Regions from separate parts of the Homo sapiens genome. Here region 2 is linked to region 1. The links are contacts of gene promoters, found by promoter capture Hi-C in blood cells and fetal thymus (Javierre and others, 2016). All regions are on one chromosome and are shown on one strand. Each heading gives the region's core, a stretch centred on a gene start or on the middle of the fragment in contact. The rest is flanking DNA. Distances are from core to core; before and after follow the strand shown. Region 1 holds the start of C3orf49 (chromosome 3 open reading frame 49). Region 2 overlaps LOC105377123 (a long non-coding RNA gene).

Region 1 (5,327 bases), core at 1,380-3,879:
TATAGGACTCAAGAGATTTGGTCCTCCCTCCAGCTTATCACACACATCTACCTCTTTGCTCCAGCCACCCTAGCTTTCTTCCACATTTTCTTTTCTTTTCTTTTTTTTTTTTTTTTTTTGTGAGACAGAATCTTGCTCTGTCGCCCAGGCTGGAGTGCAGTGGCGCGATCTCGGCTCACTGCAAGCTCTGCCTCCCGTGTTCACGCCATTCTCCTGCCTCAACCTCCTGAGTAGCTGGGACTACAGGCACCCGTTACCACGCCCGGCTAATTTTTTTGTATTTTTAGTAGAGATGGGGGTTTCACCACGTTAGGCAGGATGTTCTCGATCTCCTGCTCTCGTGATCCACCCACCTCGGCCTCCCAAAGTGCTGGGATTACAGGCGTGAGCCATCGCACCTGACCGCTTTCTTCCACATTTTCAAAGACACTGGGCTTCTTCCACCTCCGGGCTTTGGCACATGCTGTTTCATCTGCCTGGGTCACACAAATTTTCACACGATTGGCTCTTTTCCCCGTTCAGCATTCAGGACCAATGACCTCATTGGACAGGCTTTCCTAACGCTCCATCTAAAGTCACTCCTCATCCTCAGTCACTCTATCCCATCATCCTCTTTTACTTTTTTCATAACATTTACTACCAGCTGAAATTAAAATGTTCATTTCCTTGTTACCTGCATCTCCCACAGCATATTAAGTTATATGAGTTCAGAGATTTTGTGTATGTTGTTCACTGCAGTATCCCTGGTGTCTAGGGTGGTGTCTAGGGTGGTGCCTGGGAACCACTAGGCATTCAAATATTTGTTAAATAACTGAATGACTCAAAGAAGCTTGGGAGGTAGCAGTTATTACTCCTGTTTTACGAACGAGAAAATGAAGGTCCAAAGAGGTTTTCGTTACCCGCCCAAGGACCCATAAGCTTGGAAGGGGTAGATCTAGAATGTAAATCCAGACACAGCTCAAAATTGATGTCTCTCTATACTCTAACTCTTTCCCCACCCCCTTCCCACTCCTTCTAGTTCTGTCATCTGCTTCAGGACTCCTTTGGGAACCTACAAGTTTTGTCACAGATGCCACAGCAGCAAGTGTTTCAGCCTATTACATACACACATACATGCAGACATGCACACACAGAGACATGTACATAGACACCCATGCACAAATAAAAAACAGCTGTCTTTCCTAGCATAAAATTCATCTCATTCATCTAGATAATTGATGAAATACAACAGAATTAAGGCAGGAGTGCCAATAATTGCATGAAAAATATTGCCCTGTTGCTAAAGAAAATATTCATGTATTCATTTATTCAAGCACCTATTATTTATTGTGCTCTGAGGATGCCAACAGATGAGGAAAAACAGACCAGGGAGGAGCATATGTCCATTTGGCCAAGGCATATTAGATATGCTCTACTTCAGCGTTTCTCAAATAAGGGACAGAGGAACATCTGCACCCACTCTCCTAGAATATGGATTCCTGGGTCTCATTCCCTGCTGAAGCGGAATTTCTATTTCACTTGAATTTTGCCATAAAACTATGGCTTGGGCACTATGAGTTGTCCCACTTTAGGGATGAGAAAACAAGCATGGGTGGGTTAAAATGAATTGGCCAAGGTCACATAGCTAAGCTAGAAATGAGAACTCATGCATAATTCCCAAATCCACTCTCTTAGCCCCTTAACATTATACACTTCATTCTAGACCATTTTAAAGCTCTTTTCCCCAGTACTGAAACATACAAGACCCTCACTACTCCAAGTGCAGTCTGGCATCATCAGCGTCACCTGCGGGTTTGTTAGGAGTGCAAATTCTTGGATCCCAGCCCAGATGTACTGTATCGAAATCTGCATCTTAAAAAGACCTCCAGGAAGTTTGTGTGCACTTGAAAGCTTGAGAAGTATGCTCCAGATTATTGATTAATGCAAACACAGAAAGCAGAGTAATTCTTGTAACTCCCAGAACCTTTCTAGAGGAGTTTTTCTTGTTAAGCATCTAGTTATTTGACTGAACAACTCAAACCGCGAGAGGGTAACAGGAATAAATCCTAGTGTCTGCTGCCACCTTGTGGTGAGAAGTTCCATCACAGGCAGAATTCGCTCTTCACCACGAAATAAATGGGGCAATGTTGGAAGGGAGGGGTGGATCAGGTCCTCAATTTAGCAATGTACTTTGAGAGACCACTGCAAAATTCCAAGATGTAATGAAAACCACCCTTGGGGTACATTTTGAGATGTCCAAACAACAACTGGCCTTGTCATATGTGTCCCACAGGACACAGAGAACATTCACCAGCTGTAACTGAGAGATCTAACAGAAGCTCAACTTGTGTTAATCAGCGTATCGTTGGTATTCCTATAGGTCCCTACCACTTCAGAGTTCAAATACGCACTTCTGAATGTGGTGGTCAATTAGTGTGTGGGTGTTTTTTGTTGTTGTTGTTGTTGTTTGATTTTTTTTTTCTATCCAAATGCCAGCATTGAGGCAATCAGATCATCATTTCTGTATTTGCCTTGTTCAAGAATCTGTGAAGTGTTCCACAAAGGTCCATGGAATTTCACACAGCTCTGTCAAATACATCACTGGTGACCTCTGTGAAGTTGTAAACAGGGCCAGTCCCACAAATAATGTCTCTAACACCTGGAAGGGAATAAGGGAAAGACTCTAAAAATTTCCTACATATTTTATTCCGAATAGCCCACACCTTGACAGTACATTCAGTCACTGGATGATTTTGTATTGAAGTCTGTAAGTTCAAGAACTAAAACAATCCAAAACGGCTACTACAGGTGAAGTTGAGAGCAATGGCCCAACCTCAGCTGTATCTACCAGAACCCTTTAAGATTGCCTACAGAAAAGTTGGACAGTGCCGAAGATTCCAGCAACTCAAGAAGAAAAATGGCTCATTCAAAAGGAAGGGGATAGAAAGGTAACAGAGATTCATTTCCTTTTCTGTCAAATGAGAGTCTTTGGGTTTGGCATAGTGGCATGTCCTTTTAAGCATTGCATTTAGGAATGAGGACTCTGGATGGATTGGCGGGGAGGGTACTGCGTTGGATCAAGAAATCTAGTGTGACAATGTAAGCTTCATTTTATGATCAGAAACATCTTAATTGTAACAGGGAAAACCTTTCCTTTCCACTCGAAATTAAGTTTCAATGTGGCATAGGAGACTAAAATAAGTTCTGATCCTATGTTGATATTTCAGCATCAGAATTTTGGACATCTCACATCCCGTGAAAATACTATTATTTTGAAAAGTCATTAGTGCATTCTTCGAAATAGGTCCACGATCAGTGCTTTCTTTCTCCTATCCCAGCAATTTGGGCTGCTGAAATATGTACTAATCACATTTCACTATGGACACATTGTTTAATGTAACGTTAAAACTGCCTTAGACTTGCTATTTTTTTGCCAATGACAAAACCATATAGACAGGTATGAAACATCCAAAATATAATATATTTTAATTTGGAAAGTCAGTGTGGTGATTTATTTTCCAATTTCTTTGGGCTTCTCTCTTACCAGGTCCATGGGCTATAGTTCAGACATGTAGAAGTGAGGTGTTTTAATGAGTCCTGGAAGCATCAAAGACCAAGCTTGTGAACTTCCATGGACAAAATAAAATACTGCAGAGATTTCCACTTTCAATGAAAAGTAGGCACTCCGGGGGAAGCAATACAACCAAATAAATTCAGTACCAACACAAAAATATTTAAAAACTTAAGAAGGGGAGGGTTCTGCTCATATCAGAAATTGCAGCAGTGTGTTCCTAGGCTCTGGAGCTAAATCACCTTTGTTAATTATGTTCTAGATAGATTGGGGATGAGAGTGGGGAGGATGGGAATGGGAAACACCTTCTAGAGATTCTGAGACCACTTAGAACTGGGCTTTTAACATGGGTGGTCTTCAAAATTCCTGAATCTCCTGAAACTGTATTTGCATTGTTCTGTGTCACAGTATGTGTATGTGTGTACATGTTTATAGTAGTAGAATCACTTAAAAATTAAATTATTATTAAAGGAGTCTCAGAGGGGTCTACGGGAGATTAATCCTACCCATAAGTTATCTCTGGGTGAATTAGGAAATGGTGCTCCCTCCTCAGGACATTTTACTGCCATCTGCCAGAAAATCATTATAATAACTATACACAAGTCTAAGGATGAAATTGAATAGCACCCCCTAGAAGTCATATATGTACATTTTGCAGAACCCTGCCCTTGGTCCCAGAAGGGAGGCTGCTAGCTTCTCCCTTATTTTGCCCTCTAGTGTGGGCTCCCTGCTTGCCTTTTAAGTTAATGGATTTTCCCCATAAGTTAATGGCTTTTCCCCACTGTTCTGATCCACATGGTAATAAAAAGTATCATTTATGGAATGCTTTTTAAGGTTCCAAACACATGAATTATTTCCTTTTATTTTCATAATTCTGAAAAGATTATGCCCATTTTCAAATGAGAAGACCAAAGCTTATAGAGGTTACATGACATGCCCAAGGTCACAGAGTTAGGAATTGTCCTGAGTTAAACCAATACCATTCAACTCCAGTGTCTAGGCTGTCACTGAACCACTTCCCATATATAATTACAGAAAAAGGCTGAATGATTTGGGTTCTGTTTAGAACAGTGTTTTCCTGGAGAGTAGTACATATGCTACTGATGGTACATGAGATATTTTAGGTAATATATGAAGAACATTGTTAATGGTTATAAATTTGTTTTAATCCATATTAGAAATATATGTTATATATTTAATACAACGTAATAGCATAATATAAAACCTGGGATTTCACCCAGAGAAATGAAAACTTATGTTCATACAAAACCTATAGATAAATGTTTATAGCAGCTTTATTCATAATAGCCCCAAACTGGAAACAACCCAAGTATCCTTCAATCAGTGAATAGTTAAACAAAGTGTGGTACATTCACATCATGGACTATTACTCAGCAATAAAAAGATATGAACAATTAATACACAAAATCTGGATGAATGCCCAAAGAATTATGCTGAGTGAAAAAAAGCATATCTCAAAAAATTACATGATGTATATTTCCATTTACATAACATTCTTGAAAGGACGAGAATTACGCAAACAGAAGACAGATTCGTAGATGCCGGTTTAAGAAAGGGGGGACCAGTGGATAGTGGATGTGGCTATAAAACATGAGGGATCCTGGTGTTACTGGAAATGTTCTGTATTCTGACTGTTTCAGTGTCAATATGCTGGTTGTGAAAATATAGTTTTGCAAGATGTCATCATTTGGGGAAACTAGGTAAAGAGCACACAGAATCTCCCTGTATTTCTTTCTTTTTTTTTTGTTTTTTTGAG
Region 2 (5,327 bases), core at 1,905-4,404, 660 kb after region 1:
AACAATGCCGCATATCTACAACTATCTGATCTTTGACAAACCTGACAAAAACAAGCAATGGGGAAAGGATTCCCTATTTAATAAATGGTGCTGGGAAAACTGGCTAGCCATATGTAGAAAGCTGAAACTGGATCCCTTCCTTACACCTTATACAAAAATTAATTCAAGATGGATTAAAGACTTAAATGTTAGATCTAAAACCATAAAAACCCTAGAAGAAAACCTAGGCAATACCATTCAGGACATAGGTATGGGCAAGGACTTCATGTCTAAAACACCAAAAGCAATGGCAACAAAAGCCAAAATTGACAAATGGGATCTAATTAAACTAAAGAGCTTCTGCACAGCAAAAGAAACTACCATCAGAGTGAACAGGCAACCTACAGAATGGGAGAAAATTTTTGCAACCTACTCATCTCACAAAGGGCTAATATCCAGAATCTACAATGAACTCAAACACATTTACAAGAAAAAAACAAACAACCCCATCAAAAAACGGGCAAAGGATATGAACAGACACTTCTCAAAAGAAGACATTTATGCAGCCAAAAAACACACGAAAAAATGCTCATCATCACTGGCCATCAGAGAAATGCAAATCTAAACCACAATGAGATACTATCTCACACCAGTTAGAATGGCGATCATTAAGAAGTCAGGAAACAACAGGTGCTGGAGAGGATGTGGAGAAATAGGAACACTTTTACACTGTTGGTGGGACTGTAAACTAGTTCAACCATTGTGGAAGACAGTGTGGCGATTCCTCAGGGATCTAGAACTAGAAATACCATTTGACCCAGCCATCCCATTACTGGGTATATACCCAAAGGATTATCAATCATGCTGCTATAAAGACACATGCACACTTATGTTTATAGTGGCACTATTCACAATAGCAAAGACTTGGAACCAACCTAAATGTCCAACAACGACAGACTGGATTAAGAAAATGTGGCACATATACACCATGGAATACTATGCAGCCATAAAAAATGATGAATTCATGTCCTTTTTAGGGACATGGATGAAACTGGAAACCATCATTCTCAGCAAACTATTGCAAGGACAAGAAACCAAACACCGCATGTTCTCGCTTATAGGTGGGAATTGAACAATGAGAACACATGGACACAGGAAGGGGAACATCACACACCAGGGACTGTTAGTGGGGTGGGGGCAGGTGGGAGGGATAGCATTAGGAGATATACCTAACGCTAAATGACGAGCTAATGGGTGCAGCACACCAACATGGCACATGTATACATACGTAACAAACCTGCACGTTATGCACATGTACCCTAAAACTTAAAGTATTATAATAATAAAATTTAAAAAAAAGAATCTAAGAGCCATAAAAGACAGAAGAACATGTCATTCTGGCAGAGGATTCTCTATGTTCCTAGAGGGCTTTGAGGTATAGTGAAGGGAAAAGTTAAAAATACAAAAAGCAAAAGCAGCTCCTTTCATGGGGCTGTTTGTTGTCAGAGCCATAGGTCTTGTTCAAGGAGCTGTGATCACCGCTACTTCATGTTGGTAGCTAGGGCACCCAGATAGAGTACAAGTCTTCAGAATGGTGAGGAGCAACGAATGGCTCTGCCCTGTACAGGTAAGAAAGGTTCTGCCTGGTATAGGTAAGAATGTCCGCCCTGTGGCCAGAACAGGATGCTCTGGAGGAGAGGGGCTTGGTCTTAACTGGGTCAGAGCCAGGTTAGGAAATGGACCAGCAGCCCAGGGGGCCAGTCCACAAGGACCACTACACATCACTGGGATACTTTGGAAATAAGATGTCTATTAACTCAGATTTTTCTTAAACCACAGGTGGAATGCAAATTGGTCCCAATATTGACTAGAAATTATCTTCAGATAGAAGCAAATGGCAGTGTCAGCCAATGCAGACCTACCTCTGGAGAAAATGTTTGCCACTAGCTTTTATAAACTGCAAGATTCAACTATGGAACATGCAAGAATTGCCAACTGACCATCACTTAAAAACAAAATCTGGATAGATAAAATTTTGGAAGTGAGAAATGCATGATATAGTGCTGCTTCCTGGGGGGCCAGTTGTTTTGTTATTTATACTTTGAACCTTTAAAATCTTTTGGCGCAGCATGCTGGCTCATGTCTGTAATCCCAGCACTTTGGGAGGCCAAGACAAGCAAGTAACTTGGTCCCAGAAGCTTGAGACCCACCTGGGCAACATGTGAAACCTTGTCTCTACAGAAAAAACACAAAAATAGTCTGGGTGTGGTGGTACATGCCTATAGTCCCAGCTACTTGGGAGGATGAGGTGGAGGATCATCTGAGCTCCAGAAAGTTGAGGCTGCAGTGAGCTGAGATCTCACCATTGCACTCCAGCCTCGGCAACAGAGTGAGACCCTGTCTCAAAAAACAAACACACAAAACAAAAGAGAGAGAGAGAGAGAGAGAATAAACTTTCTAAGCAGTTGTCTGATTTGTGAAATTGCAAAAAAAAATTTGAAGAGGGGGCACAGAAAAGGAGGAAGTGTTCTTTAGTCAGTGAATAGATGAAAGGAATTTGTATTGAACACACACGTTATTCACTTGAACACATTTGTTCTCTGTCCCCATCGAATACAGGCTGAAGAAATATTTAGAGAATTCTGGCTTGAAAGGGTAAAAAACTAACAACCTGCCCCAGTCAGTCCCCCATGGTTACTGAACTCTGGAAGATTTTGCTGGAGAAGTCTGAGAGTCCAGTTCTACAATTTTACACAATTTGTTAAATGTAAAACATTGCTTTGGCTTCACTTACTGATTTTCCTTTCTCTCCCATTTCTGACTAACTCAAATTTACTGGGTGCCTGCTATATGCCAGGATCCAAATGTTGAACATAACTTATTTTGTTTCATACCCAAGGGGCTGTAAAGGACACACAGACTGTGAGCGCAGACACATTTTAGACTTGCACTGTCCAATACGGTAGCCACTGGCCACATATGGTTATTGAAATTTACATTTATTGTAATTAAGTAAAATTTAAAATTCAATCTCTCAGTTGCACTAGCTATGTATTAAGCACTCAATAGCCACATGTGGTTATGACTATGCTGCTGGACAGCACAGTTATAGAGCATTTCTATCACTGCAGAGAGCACCATTGGATAGCACAGTTTTAGACCTTTCAGAGTTGTCTCTACCTCCTGTGAAATCATTTTAAGCAGAAAAGCTGCCATTCATTGAGCACTCCTCTGGGCCAAGCAAGCAAGATTCTGGGTCAGTTACATAAGATCATCTCACCACAGCTCACTGCCTCACGTCTCAACGCATTTTAATTTTTTTTTTTTTTTTTTTGTAGCGCCGTGGTCTCACTTTGTTGCCCAGGCTAGTATCGAACTCCGGGCTTCGAGCAGTCCTTCTGCCTCAGCCTCCCAAAGTGCTGGGATTACAAGAGTGAGCCATTGGGCCCAGCCTCACCCCATTTTAGAGATGAGGAAACCTGAGGATAGAGAGGCCAAGTAGCTTTCTTACCATCGCACAGCAAGTGAGCGGCAAAGCCCAGGGCGTTTGACTTTAAAGGCTTTGATAATTCTGATGGCCCCACCTTCCAAGGGCATTACCCCCAAGTGTGAGTGAGAGCACCACTGTGGACAAGAAAGAGCCGCTGGGGATCCTGGCCCTTTTGACAGGAAAAGTGGCCATGGGGTCAGACAGGCTAGAGGACCAAGGCTGGTTCTGCCAATGACCATGTCAGTGACATTGCCCAAGCCACTTAGATCTCTGAATATATGTACAGTGGTGGAGCTCACCTTGTAGAGCTATGAGGATTAAATGAGAATATACACATAAGCACTTGGCACAGTATCTGGCACACAGTAGCCATTTAGTACATGGCACACATGAGTATTACTTCCGGAGTGAATCCTTTTCTTCTGTTTAAGCAGCAAACAGCAAGAGTTGCCTTGCTCCCTGCAATACACATTTCTGAGTCTGGCATGCCACCTGCTGGTCACTCCTGGATATACCATCCAGTCCCCTGTTCTCCCCAGAAGGGCCAGTGCCCAGAGTGTTCCCAGGAGACTGGGCTGTAAAACAGGAACATCCTAGCTGAGTATTCAGATTTTTTTTTCGTAAAGTCCCTTTCACATTGTGGCTCCTCTGAGAACTTAGGATAAGCTTAGATCTTGCTAAGTTTGCTGAAATCTTCTTTGTTGCCAGGCAGATAGAGAAGATGGACTTCTTTGGGGCCCTGTGCTCAACGTTAGGCTATGTTGCCAGGGTCTTCTAGCTGCAGGCTATCTAAAAGCACAGGGTCTTTACTATTATGGCTGGCATTCCCTTCGATCTGATGCTGAATATAAGTCCCACCTCTCCACCCCATATCCTATCAATCTAAAAGTCCTGTTGGGTTTTTCTCTGTGAAATATATTTAAAATCTGTCTAAGCCCCTTCATATTCTCTGCCACCATCATCCCTCACCTGGACCACTGCATTAGCCTCCTGATCTTCTTGCATCTCCTCCCTTCCCCCTGTTGTCTATTCTTCACGCAGCAGCTAGAGCTGTGGTCCTACCTGCTGTAGCTATGGAATGCCTTGGGGAACATTCAAGACCTACCAACACCCAGGGGCCAAACCCTGACTAATTAAATCAGAATCTAGGGGTAGTGGGTAGAAGGTCTCTCAACATTCGTAGCTCATGAAAGCTCCTGGATGATTCTTTTTATTTTTATTTTTCGAGACAGAGTCTTGCTCTGTCACCCAGGCTGGAGTGTAGTGGTGCCATCTCGGCTCACTGCAACCTCAACCTCCCAGGTTCTAGCGATTCTCTGGCCTCAGCCTCCCAAGTAGCTGGGACTATGTGTGTGCCACCACACCCAGCTAATTTTTTGTATTTTTAGTAGAGATGGGGTTTCACCATGTTGCTCAGGCTGGTCTCAAACTCCTGACCTCAAGCGATCTACCTGCTTTGGCCTCCCAAAGTTAGATGATTCTTTTGTGCATCCAGGATTGAGAATCACTGAGCTTCCAGTTCAGACCAGCAGTAGCAGCATCTCCTGGAGGGCTTGTTAAAATACAGACCGCTGAGTTCCACTCCCAGAGCCTGTGATTCATCAGGCCAGAAGTGGACCTGCGAATTTCCATGCCTCACAAATTCCCAGGTGACCCTCCTGGGCTGAGGTTCACACTTTGAGAACTACTGTTGTAAAAATATAAGGTGGACCATGAAACTCCTGTTTAAATGACTTATTACACTTATATATGTATATTTTAAAAATTCACCTTCTGTACCATGGCCTGTCAGGCAGGGTGAGACCTATCAATCTAGAAGTCCTGTTGGGTTCCTAGCTCCTGGCCTCTCACACCCTCT

Evidence for each region. Contacts are between HindIII fragments. The CHiCAGO score rates a contact against its expected background, and 5 or more counts as called.
Region 2: a fragment that was not itself captured here is called in contact with the fragment with the promoter of C3orf49 in region 1 in 2 of 17 cell types (megakaryocytes and endothelial precursors); the score reaches 6.4 in megakaryocytes.

Annotation. Positions count from the first base shown.
Region 1 is chr3:63,816,670-63,821,996 of GRCh38, forward strand. It overlaps C3orf49 (chromosome 3 open reading frame 49), which reads left to right and starts at 2,630. Exons shown (of 7, transcript NM_001355236.2): 1 at 2,630-2,927. The coding sequence starts at 2,803. RefSeq lists a silencer at 1,977-2,096. The HindIII fragment of the contact is 1,193 bases long and covers 1,889-3,081 here.
Region 2 is chr3:64,480,633-64,485,959 of GRCh38, forward strand. The region is part of intron 3 of LOC105377123 (a long non-coding RNA gene); the gene reads right to left. Among named protein-coding and RNA genes, the nearest start is that of PRICKLE2-DT, 38 kb to the left of the region's middle. The HindIII fragment of the contact is 1,958 bases long and covers 2,176-4,133 here.